Linked DNA regions of Homo sapiens: all the other regions are linked to region 1. The links are contacts of gene promoters, found by promoter capture Hi-C in blood cells and fetal thymus (Javierre and others, 2016). All regions are on one chromosome and are shown on one strand. The core of a region is centred on a gene start or on the middle of the fragment in contact, and the rest is flanking DNA. Distances in the headings are between cores, read along the strand shown.

The links. The method cuts DNA at HindIII sites, captures the fragments that hold promoters and counts their contacts. A CHiCAGO score of 5 or more calls a contact.
Region 2: a contact is called between a fragment that was not itself captured here and the fragment with the promoter of COL19A1 in region 1, in 2 of 17 cell types (naive B cells and total B cells). The highest score is 10.2, in naive B cells.
Region 3: a contact is called between a fragment that was not itself captured here and the fragment with the promoter of COL19A1 in region 1, in 2 of 17 cell types (naive B cells and total B cells). The highest score is 10.7, in naive B cells.
Region 4: a fragment that was not itself captured here is called in contact with the fragment with the promoter of COL19A1 in region 1 in 2 of 17 cell types (total B cells and naive B cells); the score reaches 8.6 in total B cells.

Annotation. Positions count from the first base shown.
Region 1 is chr6:69,865,009-69,868,144 of GRCh38, forward strand. COL19A1 (collagen type XIX alpha 1 chain) reads left to right here and starts at 1,548. Exons shown (of 51, transcript NM_001858.6): 1 at 1,548-1,632. RefSeq lists silencers at 2,186-2,235, 2,456-2,505, 2,516-2,585. The HindIII fragment of the contact is 9,714 bases long and covers 646-3,136 here.
Region 2 is chr6:69,968,008-69,971,143 of GRCh38, forward strand. All of the region lies in intron 11 of COL19A1 (collagen type XIX alpha 1 chain), which reads left to right. Among named protein-coding and RNA genes, the nearest start is that of COL19A1, 100 kb to the left of the region's middle. The HindIII fragment of the contact is 2,171 bases long and covers 378-2,548 here.
Region 3 is chr6:69,773,103-69,776,238 of GRCh38, forward strand. The region is part of intron 3 of LMBRD1 (LMBR1 domain containing 1); the gene reads right to left. Among named protein-coding and RNA genes, the nearest start is that of LMBRD1, 22 kb to the right of the region's middle. The HindIII fragment of the contact is 2,396 bases long and covers 453-2,848 here.
Region 4 is chr6:69,951,740-69,954,875 of GRCh38, forward strand. All of the region lies in intron 9 of COL19A1 (collagen type XIX alpha 1 chain), which reads left to right. Among named protein-coding and RNA genes, the nearest start is that of COL19A1, 87 kb to the left of the region's middle. The HindIII fragment of the contact is 5,402 bases long and covers 1-3,136 here.

The DNA of each region.
Region 1 (3,136 bases), core at 298-2,797:
TTAAAACAAAAATTAGAGACAAAATTGTGGACTTCCTTTTAGGTAGTTTTAAAGCATTACTTTAAATAGTTTCAATTAAGTGTAAATAAGGTGAATTTAATAGTCTGACAAAGAAATAAAGCCTGGATGCTCTTAGTTCAATTCATTAGTGATGGCAAGGTATATAAAGTAAAATTGCTTAGAGAAAGAAAAAAATCAAATGGGATAATACTTCAAAAAAATAGAGACTGATCACCAAAAGTCTAATGAAGGTTTGTGAATCATGTTTTTCAAATGGCCATTTGAGTAGCGTGACTCATGCAATATCCTCCCTCCTTGGCCTCTTTCCACAGTCAGCCAAAAATTAGTGATGAAAATCATATGAGAAGGAAATGTATCAAGTGGTTTTAAATCCTGACATAGAAACATGGTTTGCATCACCATGAATGCCGAACTCTAAAACTGCAGGTATCTTGATTAGGTTGAGAGAGAAGTTTAAAAATCACAAGTGATACTTTAATGGTTTCACTCCAATGAAGTGGAAAGGAGCTATCTTTTAACATTTTTCTTAACATCTTTATTTTTTGCCTGCCTGATTTTATTTATTCCTTGATCTGTGAGCTCTGATATGTGAAGTGTATTTCTATGGTTCTAAGGTAACTTTTAAGCTTGATGATTTTCACCATTGTGGATCAATAATATAATTTATCCTATTTCTCCCACTGTGGCAATACTGAAATAAAAATGTAAAACCAGTTTATCTGTTTTCTAATGCCTGGTTTACTCTTCTGAATTCTATAAATCATTCTGTTTTTCATATATACACATACATATGCATACACTATATGTATACATATAAATTTACTATATATGTATATATACCTACAAATATATATGCCTACAAGTATCCATATATACCTCCTATATATGTATATAAACCTACTATATATGCCTACAAATATATATATACTCTCTCTACACACACATACATGCACCTACACAGAAATCTGCAGGAAAATGACACTTTCACATATTCAAAGGGATCCCAAAAGAGTTCAAAAGCCAAGATTGGAAGCACCAACCCATGGAAAGATGTATTTAAAATCACAAAATACTTCTGTGGACACTGAGAAAAACCAAGCCACACAAACGTTTACATATGAGCGTGATTAGAAGGTGGGCAGACTGCCTTAATCAACTTTATATAAACTCTTGACATAAAAGTGAAAAAATGAAACATAAATGATATATTTTCTTAGCTCAACCGTTAAAAAGCCAATTACCTACTCGTGAACGTTTGCCACATACAATAATACTTTGAAGACACTTCATGATCAGAAGTGAGAAACTCTAGGCATTTGCATCCAACCGTCATTTTATCTGTGAAACTGCTAGTAAAACATAAACCTGAAAGGCATTACTCCCAGCTCTAAGGCGACATCGCTGTCATTAAAGAAAACCTGTGCCTGAGTTGGCTGAGTACCTTCTTGCAGAGTCCTCTGTCCTCGCGGAGTGGGAGGGTCACACTGGGAGAGACTAATAAGGGCAGAGATGCGTCCCCCTTCCCCACTCGCAGGGAGCTCACTCCTCGGCGGTGCCGCAGCCCTGTCCGGACTCCACTGCGCCTCTGAGGGGCTCAAATACGAATTCAAGGTAAGCTGCGCGGCTTTGCGACCGGCTCTGCACTTGCCCTCTCACACATGCCCGGGCTATGTCATCTGCTCGTGTTCCTAGTTATCTGTGTGCATCTGCTTTTCAAGAAAATGTAAAAACTGTGCTACACATGGAAATATGTTTAGGTGGATAAATAATGCACACCTGCATACGTTTCCATAGGGGCCTTAAGGATGGGACCAAAAACGTTTGGCAGGAGACGGCCACTCTCATGTGGTACATACCATGTAGTTCGTGTTCCTATGTTCACATGATGCAGGCTTCATGCGTTACACCTAAGTTCTAGGTGGTTTTTCTGGCTATGTGTGTCTGTGAAGCGGAACTATGGAGCACTGCTGATGCGGGTAGGGACAGACATCAAATACATTACAAAAAAAATGGGGGGTTAAAGGAGTAAAACAAACTCACTATCAATTCATGCCGTTAGAGCGCTTTTTTTTTTTTTTTTTGACGGTGTTAGCCCTGGAAGCGAGGCAGCCAGTTAAGCGGCGTAAGCTAAGAGACGCGGGGTTCCGGTGCGGTGCCCTCCGGCCCGGGGTTACCTACTCCACATGTGGGTGTTTTTCCCAAGTGCGGCTTCTGGGGGGCGGCGCGGGCGCGGGCGGGGATTCCCGGACTCCAGCCCCACCACGTTCCGGAGCGTCCGGCCCTGTTCCTTAATTACCCTGCAGCATGCGCAGCGCGGTCGGCCACAGCGCCGCCGCCGTCCCCGCAGTCCTCCCTGCAGCCACCGCCGCCGCCGCCGGAACGTCCCAGTCGCGGCGCGAGGAAGACGCGGCCCCAGCCTCTGCCGCCTCCGCTGTCAGAGTCCCGAGGCCACCGCCGAGAGCGCGCCGGCGCCGCAGCCACAGCGGCCGAGAACCAGGAGGCGGCGCCGGGCGGCCCAGCTAGGGCGCTGCAGGGTCGCGAGGAAGTTTGTTGGCCCGGAACCAAGCACGCCGTCGGGCACGCTAGCTCCCCGAGAGCAGGCGGGCGCGTAAGCGAACCCCCTTAGAGGTTACGGAGGGAGCGGGAAGCCGGCAAGAGGGTGGGCAGAGGAGCTGGGGGACAGGCGGGTGCCACAGGAGCCCCCGAGGAGCTTCATTTGATGAGAAGGTGAAGAGGCAGAGGGGACCAGCGTGCCTTGTCAGCCTCAGGGGACAGTGGGCTGGAGAGCAAAAAGAGGAGGGCCCAGAATGCTGATAATAAGTAGTTTTAATAGAACAATCCGTGAATAGAGGCAAGAGAGTGATCATCGGCCACAGCTTGAGATTGGGAGATGGAAGAGTAAGGGAAATAAATTGCGCCACCTCCCTCAATCCCCAATTCCAAGACGACTCAGTCCCATCTTCTGCTTGGATAAGTCTGAGGAGGATTAAGATGTGAGGATAATCACTCTGCTGTAGGGGAATTTACATCTGCCTGTTAATGGAGGAGATGAAACAAACGCACACCAGTATCTATTTTCAACCACCACCCCTCCCCAAAAAGGAGAGAACACCAA
Region 2 (3,136 bases), core at 213-2,712, 100 kb after region 1:
GTATTTCTTTTATCACCAGTCAACATCAGCTAATTTTCAGATGACATAATTCAAATTTTTGTAAGCCAGCCTAAAATAGAATATATTTAGGCTTGGTGCTGATTGTATTAGTATTGATTTTATTAGCACTAATTTTATATGCCACCTTTTGCCTTCAGTGGTTACTTTTGAAGATGTGATGGGGGAATGGAAAATGCTTAATAGAAAATGTCTTCACTTATCTATTTCATAGGTTAATCATTGATATTGTTTTCTTATCAAATGAATATTAAAAATAGCAGCAGTGAATTCATTCTTGTTATTCTGTTGCTTTTTTGTTTTCAGCATTAAAAATATATCAGCAATTATGATATGTCTCATATAGTCCTAGGCTCATAAGCTTGTTGGATAATTTATTTGGTAGCATTTTGTTCATTTATTTCAGATAGATAGATTTAACTTTTATATTTAACTTGTAACAGCAGAAATTAGATAATCAGACTATTTTTATACTAGTACCACAAATAAATAATGTCACCTGCAAGCAACTTTCTAAAATATTGACTTCTAGCATTAAATGTCATGAAATTATAGTAACTCAGAAAATCAATAGTGATCATTTGCTACTAGAAACAACAGTTATGGCTTTAAATAAATGAGGATTTTTACCCTGAAAAATCTTTTTACTTTTGTCAATTTCTCATTCAGTTGTTATGGTAATTACATGCAGGACATGAGAATTTGAATGAGTGGTTGTGACTTTGGGCCACTTAAAATTTGGTATTGAGTGAGAAAAAGCCCAAATAAGGATGTTTATATAATATACGTAAACGATTATTCAGGACATTCTGGGGCAGCATCTAGATCACTCAACAAGGAATCAACATTCTTAGTTTCTGGAGTACCACTCCTGAAAGAGCCTAGACTTGATGTTTATTTTGAAAGTGATGGTGACATATCGTAAAATAAATGGATTCACATATTTTTGTGTTCTGTGTTCCAGTCCAGCTCTGTAATGGCAGCTGTGTGAACTTGGATATGTTCCTAGCTTTCTTTATCATAGTTTCCTCTTTTATAAAATAAAGTTAATTACTACCTCACAGAATGACTGCAGGAATTAAATGAGTGCCGGTGAATAAAAGATGTTCAATAAATGTTAATATCCTCAGCAGCCAATATACAAAAGTAATATAAAATCTTAATATTTTGACAAAAATTTATTTGACAGAATTATTATATATCTTTATTTGTGTAATATTAATTCCTAATTTTTCTTGTGAATAAGTAAATAAAAGACAGGAGGCTATAGTAGTTAGCTACTGATATGTGACAAATCACCCCAAAACGTAGTGACTTAAAACGTTCATTTATTTAGCTTGTGATTATATGGTTTAGAAATTTACACTAGGCTTAGCTCAGTGATTTTTTTTTGTCTTAGTTGATCTTATCTACGTTCATTCATACAATTCGCCTGTGTTATCGGCAGGTTGTGCATCCAGGGACTATGCATCTGTGGATTCACCCAACCATGAATCAAAAATAAATATTGAGAAATAAAAATTAAAAATAACAATACAACAATAACAAATAATACAAATAAAAAACAATATAATCTAACAACTATTTACATAGCATTTACATTGTGTTAGGTATTATAAGTAAACTAGAGATTATTTAAAGTATATGGGAGGATATATGCAAATACTACTTCCTTTTTTATAAGGGACTTGAGCATCCATGGACTTTGTTATCAGCAGGGATCCTGGAACCAATCCCCAGCAGATTCTGGGGCAAGAGTGTGTATCTCTTCTCAGTTGCCAGGTTGGCTGAGGGTGGCTGGGCTAGTTTGGCCTCTGCTAGACAACATGTCTCCACTCCAGATGATCTCTCATCTTCCAACAGTTATCCTGGACTTGTCCTCAAGGTGAAGGCAGGGATCCAAAAAGAGGAAGCAGAAGCATATAAAGCCTCTTTAGCCTCCTTGCTCAGAACTAGCTTGCCCCCACCTCCATCACCACCATGTTCTACTGGCCAAAGCCAGTCTCAAACCCAGCCTAGATTCAAGGAGTAGGAAAATAGATTCCACCTCCTGATGAGAGAAGCTGCACGGACACATTGCCTAGGGTGTAAATATATGGAGAGGTGAAAAAAGGGGCCATTTTATAATAAATCTAACACAAATGATATAAAATTTTATTTTAAATTAACAGTAGAGTAGAAAGATTAAACAGATTTATCAACTTTACTTCATTTTTTTCCTTCTCCCATGGCCTAAAATATAATTCTTAAAGTTAGGTTTATATAGTGGGACTTGCAGACTGTGTCAAAACATATTTTGAATTTGAAATGGTAGAAATACTTTATATGTAATAGGAAAATATTATTTTAAAAATCTTAATTAGAATGGGAAAAAAGAAACACAATATATCAAATAATTAAACCAAGGAATGGTTTTGTACTTTTACATAGCAAAATGTACTTATTAACTTTATCTAAACTAAAACTGATACAAGAATAAATGGAAAAAACAAGTCAAAGTTGAAATTTTTTTTTAGGATTTCATGATTAAAGCTTCTTGGTGATTATGCCTATTATTTAAAACTAATGCAAGTATGTTAAATACTGCTATTATAAATATAGCACTTTCCCTTCATCACTCTAAAGCAACTGTCTACATGTTACCTTACTTCCCGTGAATTCTGTCTTGGTTCACCTTGCAGAGTTCTACTGAACATCAGCGTGTTATACAATTGTTTCCTTTACCCTAGTAACATGTAAACTAAACTTCTACAATTTTTAGGAAGGACTTACTTGTTTGATTTGACAGCTGACTTAAAAAATAAAGAGAACAGATGGAGCAAAATAATAACTATGATTTTAAAAATCATAGCAATTTATCTGTGGCCAATGATAATTGGTATGGGAGTAACCATGCCAACTTTCAATTATCCATGGTAGCAGGCAATTGGGAAAGAGTGATGGTAATCCCACAGCCAAGCCAGAGGCTTAATGCTAGTCATTACAGATTGTGTATTATTTTCCTAATTCCTTACAGTGCTCGTGAATAACTCTAATTTATGTGAAATATGTTTAACCCTCTGTTGTTGCATCACTTGCTAGTAGTTATAGAAAAAGTAAAATGTCCAGAGAGAGAGAG
Region 3 (3,136 bases), core at 401-2,900, 92 kb before region 1:
GTGTCCCTCAAAGTTCATGATCACTACCCAATATGGTAGTTTTGGGAGGTAGGGCCTAATGGGAGGTATTTGGGTAGCAAGGGTGACTGCTCATGTGTGGATTAATGTCACTATCATCTGAGTGGGTTCATTATAAAAGGATGTGTGTGCCTCCATTGCCCTTCTGCCATGGGATGACAGCAGGAAGGCCCTTACCAAATGCCAGTTCCTTCATCTTGAACTTCCCAGCCTCCAGAACTATGAGCCAATAAATTTCTGTTCCTTACAAATTACCAAGTTTTGAGTATTCTACTTTAACAGCACAAAACACACTAAGATAAACCTAAGTTCAAAATACATAAAAAAGTTTCCAGATACAAATTATCAGCACCTAATCAATAGGGAATGAAGAGAAACTTCCAAAAAACTCTCTTAGGTGCTCTAAAAGTATGGCATAGAAACTGGAACTGAAAAGCTTCCCGGTCCATCTTATTCTCCCTTAGTTCCATAACTTAATTCATCTAAATATGTGTATACTTTGACTCACTCCTATTTTTACTACAAAATTGTTTTAACAGCAAAAAAAAATTTTATTAAACACCTAATAAACTGGGATTTTTCTATGAACATCCATACAATGGAAAACAATGCAGTAAAAATCTTTTAAATGTACATATATAATATCTTCTTAACAGCTGCATTTGAAAAGACCAAATATTGTCAACAACCCCATTTTTCATCAACACTAGCATGGATAAACTACGGTATGTTAATATAGTAATAAGAATCAACAGAGTACTGTTGCCTGCATCAATATAGATGTTTCAAATATAATGTTACACACTGAAGAAGCCAAACACAAAACATTATGAACTATATGATTCAATTTACATCTACACACAAGATGATAGCCTGAAAACTAGTGTCAAGAGAAGAAAGTCTATGTGGATGATATGGTTTGGCTCTGCGTCCCCACTTAAATCTCATCTTGAATTGTAATAATCCCCATGTGTCATGGGAGGGACCCAGTGGAAAGTAATGGAATCATGGGGACGGGTATTTCCCATGCTGTTCTCATGACAGTGATTAAGTCTCACGAGATCTGATGGTTTTACATAAAGGGGAGTTCCCCTGCACATGCTCTTGCCTGCCACCATGTTAGATGTGACTTTGCTCCTCCTCGCCTTCCACCATGATTATGAAGCCTCCCCAGCCATGTGGAACTGTGAGCCCATTAAACCTCTTTTTCTTTATAAATTACCCAGTCTTGGGTATGTCTTTATCAGCAGTGGGAGAACAGGCTAATAACATGAGGAATTGATAGGCCAGTTACAGAAGAACTGAACAAAAATAGCCTCAAATAATTCCTGCTTAGGGTTTGGGATAGTTTTAATTCATTTACCCCCGCCTTTCATTAATTTCTTTTACATGAATTTCCTTTTACTTAATGTTTTTTCTCACTTCTTACTTTTGCATGCATGCAGGGGTTGTAGAAATAGGGAGAGGCCAAATATAAAGATAAAAATAAATTTGAAATAAAAACAAATTAGATAAAAGGCTAAAACACAGACAACATAAGGGATAAAAGGACTGCAAAGCAGGCTTAAATATGAAATTAAACAGAACTCAGAAGTCACTGCTAAGCCTGCATAGCAGGTCTAAATACAAAATTAAACAAAACTCAGAACTCAAAACTCACACGAGGGCAGTTTTATAAAAGAAAAGAGTAGGCTGAGTGTGGTGGCTTATGCCTGTAATCCCAACCCTTTGAGAGGCCAAGGTGGGAGTACTGCTTGAGCCCAAGGAGTTCAAGTTTACAATGAGCTATGATCACGCCACCGCACTCCTGCCCAAAATACAGTGAGATGGAAGGAAGGAAGGAAGGAAGGAAGGAAGGAAGGAAGGAAGGGAGGGAGGGAGGGAGGGAGGGAGGGAGGGAGGGAGGGAGGGAGGGAAGGAAGGAAAAGATGAAGAACTAAATAAAACATTCAAAAGAAATAAAAGGTACAAATCCTTAAAGTTTCTGGGGCGGGCATAACCTTCCCAGATGAGGGAGTCACCTGATCAGAGTCCTTAGGTGTGCAGGGAATAGGATGAAAATGAACAACTTTACCCTCTCATACTTCAACAAGCTCCAGAAAACTGAATCTGCTTTGTAAGTAGCTTCAGTTAATGAGGATTATTAATAACTAATCAACAGCTGGGGAGTGCTCACAAGGAGAAGCAGCAGGCAGCCTGATTTCTGCCAGCTTCTCAGAACAAAACACCCCAAATTCCATTAATATAACAGAAGATCCTTAAAAATGTGGTTTCCAGACCCTAGGATTTGCAGAGATCCTCTCAGGGTATTCACAACATCAAAACTGTTTGCATAATGATACTAAGATATTATGTGCCTTTCCACTATGTTTACAGTTAAACTAATGGTGCAAAAACAACAGTGGATAAAACTGCTGCCCCTTTACAGGAATCAAGATAGTAGACTCAAATTACACTAGAAGTCATTGTATTCTTCAGGGAGGAGGGAGATTTGAGCCTTTTATTCACAAAAGTCCCTTTTGAAGCAGTAAAAATTCTAGTGTCCACATTTGCATATATATCCTTTTAATATTCTGTGTGACAGGAAATACACATAAACCATGCTGTACTTGTGTCTCACAACATCTCAATTTTGTCTGCGCTCTTTGAGTTGTGAGCTACAGTAGCCACTTTTTTTTCAAAGAACATCATTTTTACTTGAAAGAACAACTGACAGATAAGCAATGGTTATCCAGACTTGATTATTAGACAGGCTTTCTCAAAAATGAACAGTGAGACTATCACTCCAAAGGAAATAAGTGACAGTATTTGTCACCAATGATAAAACTGAAGCTTTCAAGAGAAAATTAGAATGTTGGAAAACTTGAATCTATCTTTGAGTTTTACAGCATCTCAATATATACTTTTCTGATAAGAATAATGGCAATATTAACAAATGTGGTTTTTTCAATGTATAATGATATGTGTCAACATTCAGAAGACCTATATTATTCACTGAACAAATATTTTCCAAATGAATAAGGCATAATGTCAACTGTCTTATTTGGCATTTGACAAATGGACAAAAGATCCATTCAAAGTGCAAATGGGCCAATAGATTTCAATGTCATGGAGTATG
Region 4 (3,136 bases), core at 283-2,782, 87 kb after region 1:
CCTTACAACACCCCTGTGAGGTAAGATTTATTGTCACTATTTCACAGATTAGGAAACAGATCTAGAGAGAGAGAGGGAAAAAAAATTAAAAACTTCCCCTAACTTGGTACGGAGAAAATAGTAGAGTCAGGATTTGAACCTCTATCCATGGAAATCCATAGCTCTTGCCCCTTTGCCATATTACCTCATCTGGACAGCTCCTCAAATATTCAGATTTCATTTACACAGGCAGGTCTGAATTAGATCTTAAATTTGTTTGCCTGCCAGTTTAGTGAGTGAACTGCAGTTTGCTTCGGACATCCTGCTCCAAGGAGGGCTGTGTCCCTTCCCTTTAAATCCAAGGACCCCTTTTAAACTGTATCTGACCCTAGGGATTCTGACTCCCCCACCTTCATAAGATTGTGTTCACCTATTAAGAATCATTATGCATATGGTTTTTCACCAAATGAGAGGGTTTTGTCTAGCTTTACCTTCCAAAATAAGTATCATGGAAAAAAATTTGCTTGGTTTCCAAGTACAGGTTACATTTGAAGTGTGTTTTCAAACATTCCGCGCTTGACTCTCTGGAGATTCTTAATCTACCCTGCATGCCCACGTCCAGGCAGCTCAATCATGGGCACTCTCCAGATTAACCTTAATGCAACACCTAATGTAGAAATTTTTCTCTTACATTCTCCACCAAATAAATATATATAATTTATTTATCAAAAACAAAATTGTTTAACTTAGTACCATGGCTTTATAAAAATATAAAATAAATCAACCTTCTGGAAGTAAAAAAAGCTGTATATATTAAAGCACTTAAGAAGTACATCTGATAACATGATGAGAGAGTGGCCAAGCTGCATGTCTTAAAAATAGCTGGACTAACTATCATCATTATATGAGGATATGCTTTGTATGATGGGTCTTTTCACCATAAACTCTGAAGCCCTCAGCACTGCAGTGAGATGAGACTGAATGAGGCAGATCCATTGTTCCCTAACAGTCTTTGTATTTCTTTTCTGCTGGAAAATGAAATGACTATGATCTTTGAATCTTGATTTTCCCTAAAAAGACATTTTATGAGAAGACTGCAGCTTCAGAAAATAAAGGCAGATGCTGTTACAGTTTATGTAAGTGCAGACAAGGCCAATCACTGTTGTGAATTATAATGAACTTTCTAACAGTGCTGGTCCAGATGTAGCATTAATGCTTCAGAGACTCAGAAACTTATAGGCAAGTAGTATAAAAGCTAGAGAATTTTAAGCCATTTGGCTTCCTCTCTATATTTCTAGCCTCACCTAATTTTTCTGTGCTTAATTTTAGACTTCCTAAGTTTAAAACATAATTTAAAATGCCTAATGCATGTGACAATTTATTATAGAAATTGAGGCCATTAAATGAGGAGGAAAAAAAAAGACAACTTAGCTTTATTCTATCAATGGAATACTTCCTGCCTATGAAATTGTTAGGCTTTATAAAACAAGAATGTTTTCCACTTTAGAGAAAAATACCTCTTAAGCAGAGAATCACCTGTATATCTGTGTAATTTAGAAAATTCTCTAATGAGTGAAGGTATAGTCAAATCTACACACAGGATTGAATTTTTAATCATAATTAGTATTCATAGAAAAAAATGACCACAAAGAAAACAGTTTTGTAAGCCTACTTGTTGGCTTTACTTGTTAAAGGTAGGAGAATAAAACTTGAATTATCAGTGAAAAACTATTGCTCTTACATGGAATAACTGTCATTTAATTGTCTTATCTATAGACATATATTGATACAATATAGCACTAAAATAAGCAGAAACATAAGAAGGACAAAGTAATAGAAGGACAGGAAAAAGAAAAAGAAACTTGCTCACTCTGCAGCTGATTTTATTTCTTAATGGTTTCTTATTCCCTTCTAATGCCTTCCACTCACACCCCAAGTAGAGCAGTTGGCAGGGAACACAACAGATGGATGACAAGCTCACCACATGCCATGTATCTGGCACCCAGGCACTTGACTTTTATTTGCTAAACAGTCAGATTTCAAGAACCTAGTCTGCTAATGTTCCTGTTTGGTTTAATGTACTACCAGCTTCTAGCACGTAAATATTAAAATATTGCCATAAGAAAGCTCACACACTCTGTGTTTCTCTGCATAGTTAAGTGGCTAATTATTTTATTCTTGGTGTAGATACTGAACAGTGGATTTAAACATATAACTGGTATTTTATAAAGACATCTATGATTTTAGATATTAGAGTTTCCTTAAAGTGGCTCTATCTAAAGGAGCTTTTAGCCAGACACATCAGGGACTGCCAAAGCCGGTGTAAGGTATTGAATGAACCTGTTAGGGAAGACTAGAAGATTTGAGCAGATGATCACAGATGATTGGTATCTTTCTTTTCTATCTCCATCACTGCATTTTCAGATTATTAAACTCAAAACACATGCATTTTTTTCATGAATTCTCCCAGGCCACCAGGCAAAATTACAGCTTATCCACTCAGCTCACATAGCACTTTATTTATATCACCAATGTAGAGTGTGTCTATACACCCTGCTAAAATGTGAGCTCCTGGAGTAGAAGGACTTGGGGTCTGTCTCATCTCTAATCCCAGCAACTGACCCAGCGTATGGTACCTGGCTGGTTCTGGATAAGTGTTTGTTGAGTTGTTCAGAATTCGAGGACTTAGCCCCAAGCCAGAAATAGAGAAGAGAAATAGAGAATGACTGTTAGAAAACTTCGCTGAGGAAAGATCGGAAAAGCACCCCAATGCCAGCAACACTTCAGTGAAAGTCCTTCGTACTTTCTACAGAAGCATAATTTAGGGAAACAAGGGAATCTCTTCTTTGCACAACAAAGTTTACAGGTATTGCTTCCTAGAATTAAATATAATAGAAGTGTGTGCATCTCCAGAATTTGCTTTCCATTTTCTCTTGGAGAAAGTATGCTCTTCCCTCTCTCTCAAACACAAATATTCAAGTTATATTGCTTTCTTTTTATCCAAACTAGATTTGAAAATCTCCTAACTTTCTTACAACATTGTTAGGGTGTGTTCCTTCTCCATATCTTCATAACCATTTACTTCAGGGCTAAAGATAAGTAACCAATGGCTTCAGTACATTTAAGGTCCAGTAGAAGTAATTGATATGGAATAGAA